3 separate regions of the Homo sapiens genome follow, and all the other regions are linked to region 1. The links are contacts of gene promoters, found by promoter capture Hi-C in blood cells and fetal thymus (Javierre and others, 2016). All regions are on one chromosome and are shown on one strand. The core of a region is centred on a gene start or on the middle of the fragment in contact, and the rest is flanking DNA. Distances in the headings are between cores, read along the strand shown. Region 1 holds the start of NAV2-AS5 (NAV2 antisense RNA 5). Region 2 has its middle 77 kb from the start of E2F8. Region 3 has its middle 96 kb from the start of E2F8.

What was found. Contacts are between HindIII fragments. The CHiCAGO score rates a contact against its expected background, and 5 or more counts as called.
Region 2: a fragment that was not itself captured here is called in contact with the fragment with the promoter of NAV2-AS5 in region 1 in 1 of 17 cell types (endothelial precursors); the score reaches 5.5 in endothelial precursors.
Region 3: a contact is called between a fragment that was not itself captured here and the fragment with the promoter of NAV2-AS5 in region 1, in 1 of 17 cell types (endothelial precursors). The highest score is 5.6, in endothelial precursors.

What each region holds. Positions count from the first base shown.
Region 1 is chr11:19,505,709-19,508,773 of GRCh38, reverse strand. NAV2-AS5 (NAV2 antisense RNA 5) reads left to right here and starts at 1,545. Exons shown (of 3, transcript NR_049725.1): 1 at 1,545-3,065. It also overlaps a transcript of NAV2 not described here. The HindIII fragment of the contact is 5,962 bases long and covers 1,038-3,065 here.
Region 2 is chr11:19,316,463-19,319,527 of GRCh38, reverse strand. No RefSeq gene overlaps it. Among named protein-coding and RNA genes, the nearest start is that of E2F8, 77 kb to the right of the region's middle. The HindIII fragment of the contact is 2,836 bases long and covers 228-3,063 here.
Region 3 is chr11:19,334,945-19,338,009 of GRCh38, reverse strand. No RefSeq gene overlaps it. Among named protein-coding and RNA genes, the nearest start is that of E2F8, 96 kb to the right of the region's middle. The HindIII fragment of the contact is 565 bases long and covers 1,330-1,894 here.

The sequences.
Region 1 (3,065 bases), core at 296-2,795:
CATTTGGGGATTCAATAGTGAATAAAACATTTATTGAGAGAGATAAATCTTAAATCATTATACTCATAATCATTTAATTAAAATTCTGATTAAGTGATACAAAAGGCAGACAGGTGGCTGTTGGAGTACAGGACGGGGAACTTAGAGACTGGAGTGGAGGATAATCAGGGAAGGCTTCCCTGAAGAGGTAACATTTACATGCAGGTATGAAAGGTGATTAGGAACTCGCCCAACAGTAAATGGGACTGAGAATGAGAACTGCGAAGAGAAGCCCAGGAGGAAGGAGTAGAAACATATGCAAAGGCCCTGAGGAGAGAAGGTACCTGCCACACTTAAATAACCAAATAGGATTAGCAGGAAGTCCAAGGGGCTGGTTTTGTGCTTGTATGCTTATTTGTTTTTCTTTAGTTTGGAAGAGGACAAAGGTCAGCATCCATAGAGCCCTGGGGAGGAAGGGCCATTAGAGTGGATAGTCAATGAGTCAGCCTTGACTCATCCTGACCCTGATTCTGACCCATGGATCAGGTCAGGGTAGGAGTTGCTGCAACTCCAGAGGAATCAGTAGGACAGCCTCAGGAAGAGAAGGCTGAACCCCTGAGACAGAGCAAGGCTGGTCCACAGAGCAGCCCCCATCAGCATGTGCTTATTAAAACAATCTCCCTCCTTCATCCCACCCCACCACTGCCCTTGCTATAAAAGGAAACATACTTTCCATTTCATCAAGGACCAACCTTTCAGAGCCAACTGAAATCCAGAAATGCATGTCTCTTAGGCTTCACGTATTTATTAATCCTCATCCCAGGGGCACTGTGTATAAGGGTTAAAAGCCTGGGCTCTGGAGTTAGACTGCCTGAATTTGAATCCTGACATTGTCATTTACTAGCTGTGTGACCTCAGGCAAATCTCTGAACCTCCGTGTCCTGATCTATAACTTGAGGATAACAATGGACTCACTGATAGGGTTGTTATAAAGATTAAATGAGATAATGTACACAACATAGGGACATATAGGTGGAAGCCTTCAATAAATGGAAGCTTTATGATGATTATAATGATGATGATTTCATTAATATCATCGGCATCATAGAAACCATGTAGTATCTGTCTATAATGCTCCAGAAACTGAGCTAAGCATTTCACATCCTTTATTTTCAATGTTCCTCCAACTTTGGTTTAATGATCCCCATTTTCTAAATAAGGAGACAGGCTCAGAGAAATTAAGTGATGCAGCTATTTAGTGACACAGTGCAGATTCAAACCCAGGCTCCAAAAGTAGTCTACCCTCCACATTTCTATACCAAATTAGCCACTTCTCATCAAAATCCTGTAAAATCCTGTTAATTACAACAAATGAGGATGAAGTCAGTTTATACTACCTGTTCATTAATTGGCAGATTTTTAACATCATTCCTTGTCCCAGGAGGACTCTCCAGGGGTCTATTATTACCATACAATTCTTTGGGGGAAATGAAACAACAGCTGGCCCTGCCAGTCACCATGGCAACACTCCTGTAACTACTAGAACCATGTCAACAGCAACTTTATACATACATACAGATTCCAAATTTGCACTTAACTGCTATATTATGTATGTACTTGTTCATGACACCACTTGGAATTCAGGTAGAGGTATTTTCAATCAGCTCCAACATCCCTTTCCTTCCTTGGATGTTTCCAAGACACCATCAAGCCAGGCACATTTAGGCAGAGAGGTTGCTGGGGAGAATAGAACATTGCCAAGCTCTGGCGCCAAATACTGCACTCTGGCAACGTGTAAGTGTAAGGCAGGCATTGTGGGTGTGTGACCTCTGCAATCACACAGGGCCTCATGCTCAGGAGGGCCCTGTGCTTGATTCAATACTCTGCTGGCCCCATCTTGAAATTCTTAATGATTTTTGAACAAGGGGCTCCACATGTCCATTTATCAGTGAGCCCCTCAAATTATATAGCCAGTTTTGTGTGAGGACAAAGCAATGGACAGATACTATGAAGCTCCTTTCTGGGTGGCATTTTCTCTTTCTTTTCTCCTTCCTTTCAGAGCTACCAAGTCACCCCACACTCTAGCTCAAGAGCTCTACCTGACCAAAACTCAATGGCCTTTCCTCAGGAAATCCAGCTATGCTAATGCCACCAGAACTGAGTCAGAACTCCTAACTCTACAAATATGGCTCCTCTGTATTGAGTGCCTGCTAGGTGCCAGGCACAACACTCAACTGGGACCAATATTATTTCTGATCTGGGAGATAGATAGGTATGATCAGCCCCATTTCACAGTTGAGGACATTGAGGCTCAGAGAGATTCAGTGACTTGTCCAAGGTCACACAGTGCATCAAACACAAATCTGATGAGCCTTCTCAAAGGCTCTTGATGCCACCTGCTTCCAGAACATTCTGCCACTCACTCTGCCTAGGCTGCTGCCCTGCCTGACTTGAGCTCAGGCAGTTCTGCCACTTGGGTCAGATCGGCTACAAGTCCTGGAGTATGGGCCCTTCCTAGCCCCATGCCTATAGTTTCTGGCTCCTCTTACCTCTTCCAGATTTGGATGAAAACACTCTCCAGCATGGGGTGGGAACTGGTCTCCTGAGAGGCTGCCATTAGGACTGGGTGATACAATCCTGAAGTGCAGAAGAGTTAACCCCCACTAGGAAAACTTTGACCAGTGGAAAATAGGAGTTGAGAGGGAGCAGGACACATACATTCCTTCTTCCTCTCTCCATGGACTGCTTCATGACAGTCTGCCTTGCCGCTCATCCAGCTGAATCCCACGTGTCATGCTGAAAGGTCTTGTGCAGTGACCTTCTGGGTGTCTCCATGGCTGTTTGTGACATAATAGCCATCAAGGAAACACACCACTTAGTGTGGCTTTGCATCCTTCTTTGCCTCGCTTCCTTGTGTCTCACCTTTGCTGCCATGGATTTGCATCTTCCAAATGAAACATCTCACTTTCAATTTTTGCCCCAGGCTCTATCTTCTAGAGAAGCTAGCCTAACATACATATAGGAAGGGCAGCCTTCCCACTCAGCCCAGGGTGTGGTGGAACTTCATTTAGGCTGCATGTGAAAAT
Region 2 (3,065 bases), core at 396-2,895, 190 kb after region 1:
GACGCTTCTCTCTACACAATGACACCCTGCTTCCTACCTCCCACACTTAATACTCATCCTAAATTTCCTAATCACTCCCATTGTATTAGGCCATTCTTGCATTGCTATAAAGAAACACCTGAGACTGGGCTATTTATAAAGAAAAGAGGTTTAATTGGCTCACAGTTCTGCATGCTGTACAGGAAGCACAGCTCCAGCACCAGTTTCTTGGGAGGCCTCAGGAAGCTTACAATCATGGCAGAAGGGAAGGCAAAGCAGGACCAGGCACTTCACATGGTGGAAGCAGAGCAAGAGAGAGTGAGCGAGGTGCCACACACTTTTAAACAACCAGATCTTACAAGAGTTCACTATCGCAAAGACAAGCACCAAGGGGGAATGGTGCTAAACCATTCATAAGAAATCCATCCCCACGATCCAATCACCTCCCATTCACCTCCCACCAGGCTCCACCTCCAGTACTCGGGATTACATTTCAACATGAGATACGGATGGAGACAAATATTCAAACTACATCACCCATATATACCCTTAGTGATCAACACTGAGTAACCGTCTGGCTTTGGTGATTGATAGGCTTGGGGAGGGAGCAGGATGATTGCAGGAAGATGCACAACCTTCCGGCCTGGACAACAAGGTGTGCCCCCAACAGACTATGAGCATTTGGAGAGCAGAGAGTGGGTCTTATGCCCCTCTATTTTTAGCCCCTAGCACTGTGCCAGCACACGCTGCCTGCTTGGTGAGTGACAATGGAAGAAACGATGTGCACTTCCAAACCAACAGTCTTTTGTTCCAAATTTGATGCTGTTTGGCAAGTCCTTCTCACCCCCATCATTACTCATTCCCATGCCCTGGTTTGACCATCTTTGGCACAGACTTCAAGGTTGGCTCAAATATCGCCTTAAAGGAAAACTTCTCTGCCCTTTCCTGTGTACCTTCAGACCTCATCATAACACCTGTTGTACTCTGTACATTTGTGGTATAGGCTCCAAACAAATGTGAAAATGAATAAATGCACAAATAAATAAACCCCCCACAAAACTGTGATCCCAAGGCAGAGATCACATGCCATTCAATTTCGCATCACTGATGAGAATGCTTCAGCCTGGCACCTGGCACAGAATGGCCAATTATCGTATAACTGAATTGAACAATACACAGAGTATGATTATCCCCAAATTAGGGCATTTCCATATTATTGTCAAACACTAGGAAATAAAAAATACTTAATGATGGAGTCTCAGGCACCATATTCCCTTAGATTCAGGCAGAAGAATGACAGGAAATTCATTACTGGGCACCCTAAGACATGCCAGGCACTGTAACAGGCACTCTCATCATCATAAAAGAGAAGATAATATTTATCAAGTACTTACCTACTGCCAAACAATGTTTTAAGTATTTCATATATGAAAACATATTTGACAGCACTGTCAGATAGACGTTAACATTGTCCTTACTTTTTATAAGAGTAAGTCAAACTAAAAGGTGATGTAATTGTTCAAAACTGCAGAGCCAGTAAGTGGCAGAGCTAGGATGTGAACCCAGGCAGTTTGGTTCTAGAATATGGCTCCAAATAGCTGCAGTATTCCAGCTCCTTCATATAGTGTCCACACCAACCCCAAAAGGTACTATTCCCCCATCGTGTAGATCAGAGAACTGAGGCTCACAGAGTATGTAATTTCCTCTCATTCAGCCAACATCTATAGGTTAGACACTGGAACATGGCAGCGCTGGCAGGGAAGCCAGGTCTGCCAGTTCTCAATCAATGCCATCTCTGCCACACACACACACTGCTCCCCTTCCTCGCCTCCCTGAAGTGGGGGTGCAGAGGGCAGCCTCTTGGCTAAGCATCACACCACAATCCCCAGATGCCTCCATGATATAGTACTAGGAAACCCTGGGAAGCCAATAACATGCTTCACCCTTGGGTGTCCTGAGCAGATTGGGGGCCCGGCCATGTGGACATTTGAGAAGCACCTATGATCTGAAGGCTTGGCGTTAGAATGGCTTCCATTTACTAGGGACTGGCTATGGGCCTGAGATATTATTTATATTCAGCATCTCTTAATTCTCTCCACAATACCATGGGACAGCTATTACCACCATTTTACAGATTAAACTGAGTCTACAGAAGATGAAGTTCCTGCCCCAGGTCTCTCAGCAGTGAGTGGCAGAACTGGATTTTGATCCCAAGTGTGTCTGACACCAAAATCCATGATCATGACAGAGAGGTTTAGCCTCAAATTCACCTTCACCTTCCCCGCAGGCCTGCTTTACAACTGTCAGGCTTGTAAGAGAGTTGGTAGGAAGAACTAGAAGAGGAGGGTGGATTTGGCCCAGAGAAGAGTGAGAAGAATGTCTCCAAAAAGGAGCAGGAAATGGTGAGGAGGGTTGCAGGGCACAGAAGTGGTAGGGATGTGGTGTAAATGTAGGGTCTTCCCAGTGCCCATCTCCCAGGGGAGATGGGCCAGAGAGAGGAGACCAAAGAGAAGCACGTTTTAGAATGTTGAATGCACAGCTAAGGAGTCTGGTCCTGGTCCCGGGTGCAGGTGAGGAGTCGGTGCCACTGGCCACAGGTCCTACCTCTGGACTCTACAGAGAAGGCCTCCTAGGTCTCAGGCTCAAGGTCAGAAATCACTAGATGTCCAGGCTTCTAGCCTCATCCACTGTATATGCCACATAACAGGGTCCGTTCAAAGGCTCCATGCTGGGGATCACAGTAGAGGCACAGCCAGTGGCTGCTGGTGGCCACAGAGGGCCAGCCCTGGCTGGGACTTTGGCTTCCCACTCTCCTCAGATCACACACAGCCACAGCCCAGCAGCACGGCCTTAAGCCAAGTCTGATTTTGCCTCTGGGACTGAGAAAAAATGAGCTCTGCTACTCACAAAGGAAGGCCGCTTGCCAACAAGTTGCTCTTTCACACTCTTTTTGGAGCAGACACAACACCGGGTTCGACCAGCTGAAATCTTTCCCTGAACAGTTTTCTCCCAGGCATCTCCTCCCCAGTCTTTACCTGGCGTAAAGCCTGTTTAAGATCAGCACACGGTGATTTATGGAAAGCTTT
Region 3 (3,065 bases), core at 363-2,862, 170 kb after region 1:
GCCTTGAGACCACGATGTGTCCGATGTAGTCAAGAGACCAATGTGGCTAGAAAGTGGCAAATAATGAAACAATGTTACATGATTGAGTCAGACAAGTCTGTTCTAAATGCAATGGGAAGCACCTGGAGAGTTTTAAGTGGATAAATTTTTCAGAAGTTTTCTTTGGCTGCATTTTTGAGACTAGATTATAAAAGAGGGAGCAGGGGGACCCATTAGGTCACTGAAGTCACCTGGCAGGAGACAATGGTGGCTTACGTAGAGATGTGAAGATGGAAATAAAGGACAGATGCTGTCTCTCTCAGACTCTGCCCACTCTCTCATCCTCAGTTCTCACTGCTAATTGGGTAGCCTAGTTCAGGCATCAAAGGAGGGTCTGATTGCCCAGGTCATTTCAACATACCAAGCCAACCTATGGGTCATCTCCTCTCTCTTCGTCAAGTGCTCACCTCTAGGGCAGGTAGGAGAGACCGGGTGCATTTAATCAAATCAGGGCCACTAATGCAGTGGGGGCTAAGGCAGGCCAGCCTTAGGTGTGTACTAAGGTGGAAGGCGCAGAAGGTGCTGTGTGCCACATGCAACAACAGGCAGGCCCAATGGTGATCTTAGCCAGCACCTCCATACCACTTATTGTCCCAGGCACTGTTCTACATTATTTAGATATAATAATTCATTTAATTCTCACAGTTATCTCATAAGACAGATACTATTATTATCCATATTTTTCAGAAAAGGCAATAAGCACAGAGAAATTAAGTGACTTTTCCAAGGTCATACAGCTAGTTAGGGGTGAAGTTGGGATTCAAATTCAAGCAGTCTGACTCTTGAGGCCTTGATCTTAACCACTGTTGAAATCTTCTTTAAAGTCTAGCTCAAATATTAATGAGAAGGTATCCTGAACATGGATGTTGAAAAAAAATAGGAATAAATATTGCCACAGCTGCTGCTGCTGTTTTATCTAGTGAAACCACGAAGAGACTTTCTACACTGCCTGGTTTAAGCTCCAGCTCTTCCATTTACTATTTCTAGGATCTGGGTAAAGAACTATAACTTCTTTGAGCCTCAAGTTTATTACCTAAAAGTTTATTTTCTAAAGATAGAGATACCATCTGTCTTTGCTGTTGTCTAGGGATTGTTTGTAAGACAACAATTACAATGCCAGGGGAAAGGTGCTCTGATAAATTAAGAGTGTGTTCTACAAGTAAAAGCTTGTTACTCCATCTGAATAGTGTTTGTTTCTTGGGTGTGTGACTCTTCATTGACATTTTGTTTCTATGAATTCTTCAAAGGGAAGGCTTTTTGCTTTGATGATGAGACCCACCCACCCAAGCTTCCTGTGTGTGGATCACGACCTTCCCTGGGAAGACAGGTGTGGGGACCCTGGCTTGGCTCCTTTGCATAGCACATTGGGAATATTTGCATTTCCAGTGTCTTGTTTCTCCATTGAATCGGGGACCCATTCTATTTTTTTTTTTCTTCCTGTGGCATCAGATGAAAGTGGCCTGGAAGTCAATGCAACTTCCTTTCATCTCACAGTGTGTCCAGTGGCCTCCTAACTACTCAAAGCCCAGCAGGCTAAGCTGAGCAAGGACACACAGAAGAAAACTCCCACTTAGATTCTTTTGGAGGGATTCCTGGCTACTTCCTGACTGGCACTCCCTGACTGCAGCCACACACACGTGCACGCGCACGCACACAGATGCACACACACACACACACACACACACACACACACAGCAGTGCACCCACAGAGCCCCAGGGAGCACTCTTCAAGACATCTTTGAAGTCTGATGATGCCATTGTCTTCTCCCATGGGGTTGGCTAACAGAAGCCTACATCGTCTAAATCCTCAGAGAAAATACAAAAAACTCTTTTTTTCTGGGTCAGTAGGTAAGCTTTGTATAAAAAACAAAAACAAAAACAAACCAAAGATGTATTCTTCGTGGAGAAAAATGGCAGTATGAATGCTTTTACCACGAATCTCATTGCCTTCCTTTATCTGCAGTAATCTCCCATGGGGATGGGATGCTTGGCTCTAAGCGATGTGTAAGTGGGTACAGGTGATAGTATGTCGAATGCTAGGGAATCTTTGAAGCCAGAGATTCTGGCTCCACAAGACCTTGTTTCTGTTTAGCTTTGGTTCTGAGAACAGTTTTTAAATATTTAGGGTCCAATTCCAGCAGGCTTACTAAGCATTTTGGGGGCAGAGGGTGTGATAAGTTTACAATTTGTAAATATAGGAACCATTATTTTTGCTATCAGACTGAAAAAAAAAACTTTTTAAAGTAGCATTAAACATTATTGGTGAGGGCAAAAGGAAACAAATTCAACAAATATTTATTAAGAACCTACTCTGTGCTAGGCATTGCTCTAGGCTAGATTCACTATGGTACAGGAAATAAATGAACAAAATCCTTGCTTCATGGAATGAGCATTCTAGTATAATTCATTGTGCTAGAAATGTGTATACCTACTAGAAAGTAGGATGCATGGAACACCTTGAAAATGTGTATGTGTGCCCTTTGACCTGAAAAGTTGTGCACCCATATATGTACAAGAATATAAAGTTTGTTTGGGAGAATAAAAATTTAGAAAAGAAAAACCTAAATATATAACATGAAGGTACCATTTACATTCATTATGGTCTGCTTTTATAACTGAATACCATGCTACTACTAAAATAATATGGAAGAACATTTATTGATTTGGAAAATGCTAATGATACATTGCTATACAGAAAAGTAGGTTACAAAATGGTAGGTAGAATATGACTCCACTTGCATAAAAATGTTTATGAATGGAAAAAATTTCCAAAAGGTTATTGTTTAATTTAGCAATATTTACTTAGCTTACTTACTGTGTGCCTGGGCCCTGGGGTTACCAAAATGAACAAGATAAGCCAAGTCCTTTCCCCTCATGGAATTTGTGGCAGTTATCTTTGAGTGGTAGAACTTGGGATAACTTTCATTTTTTCCATTTGTTTTTCTGTGTTTTCCACATCTTCTAAACCAATCAGATATTCCTTTTTAAATTAATTTAAATTAAACATAATTTGAAAAATAAACCTT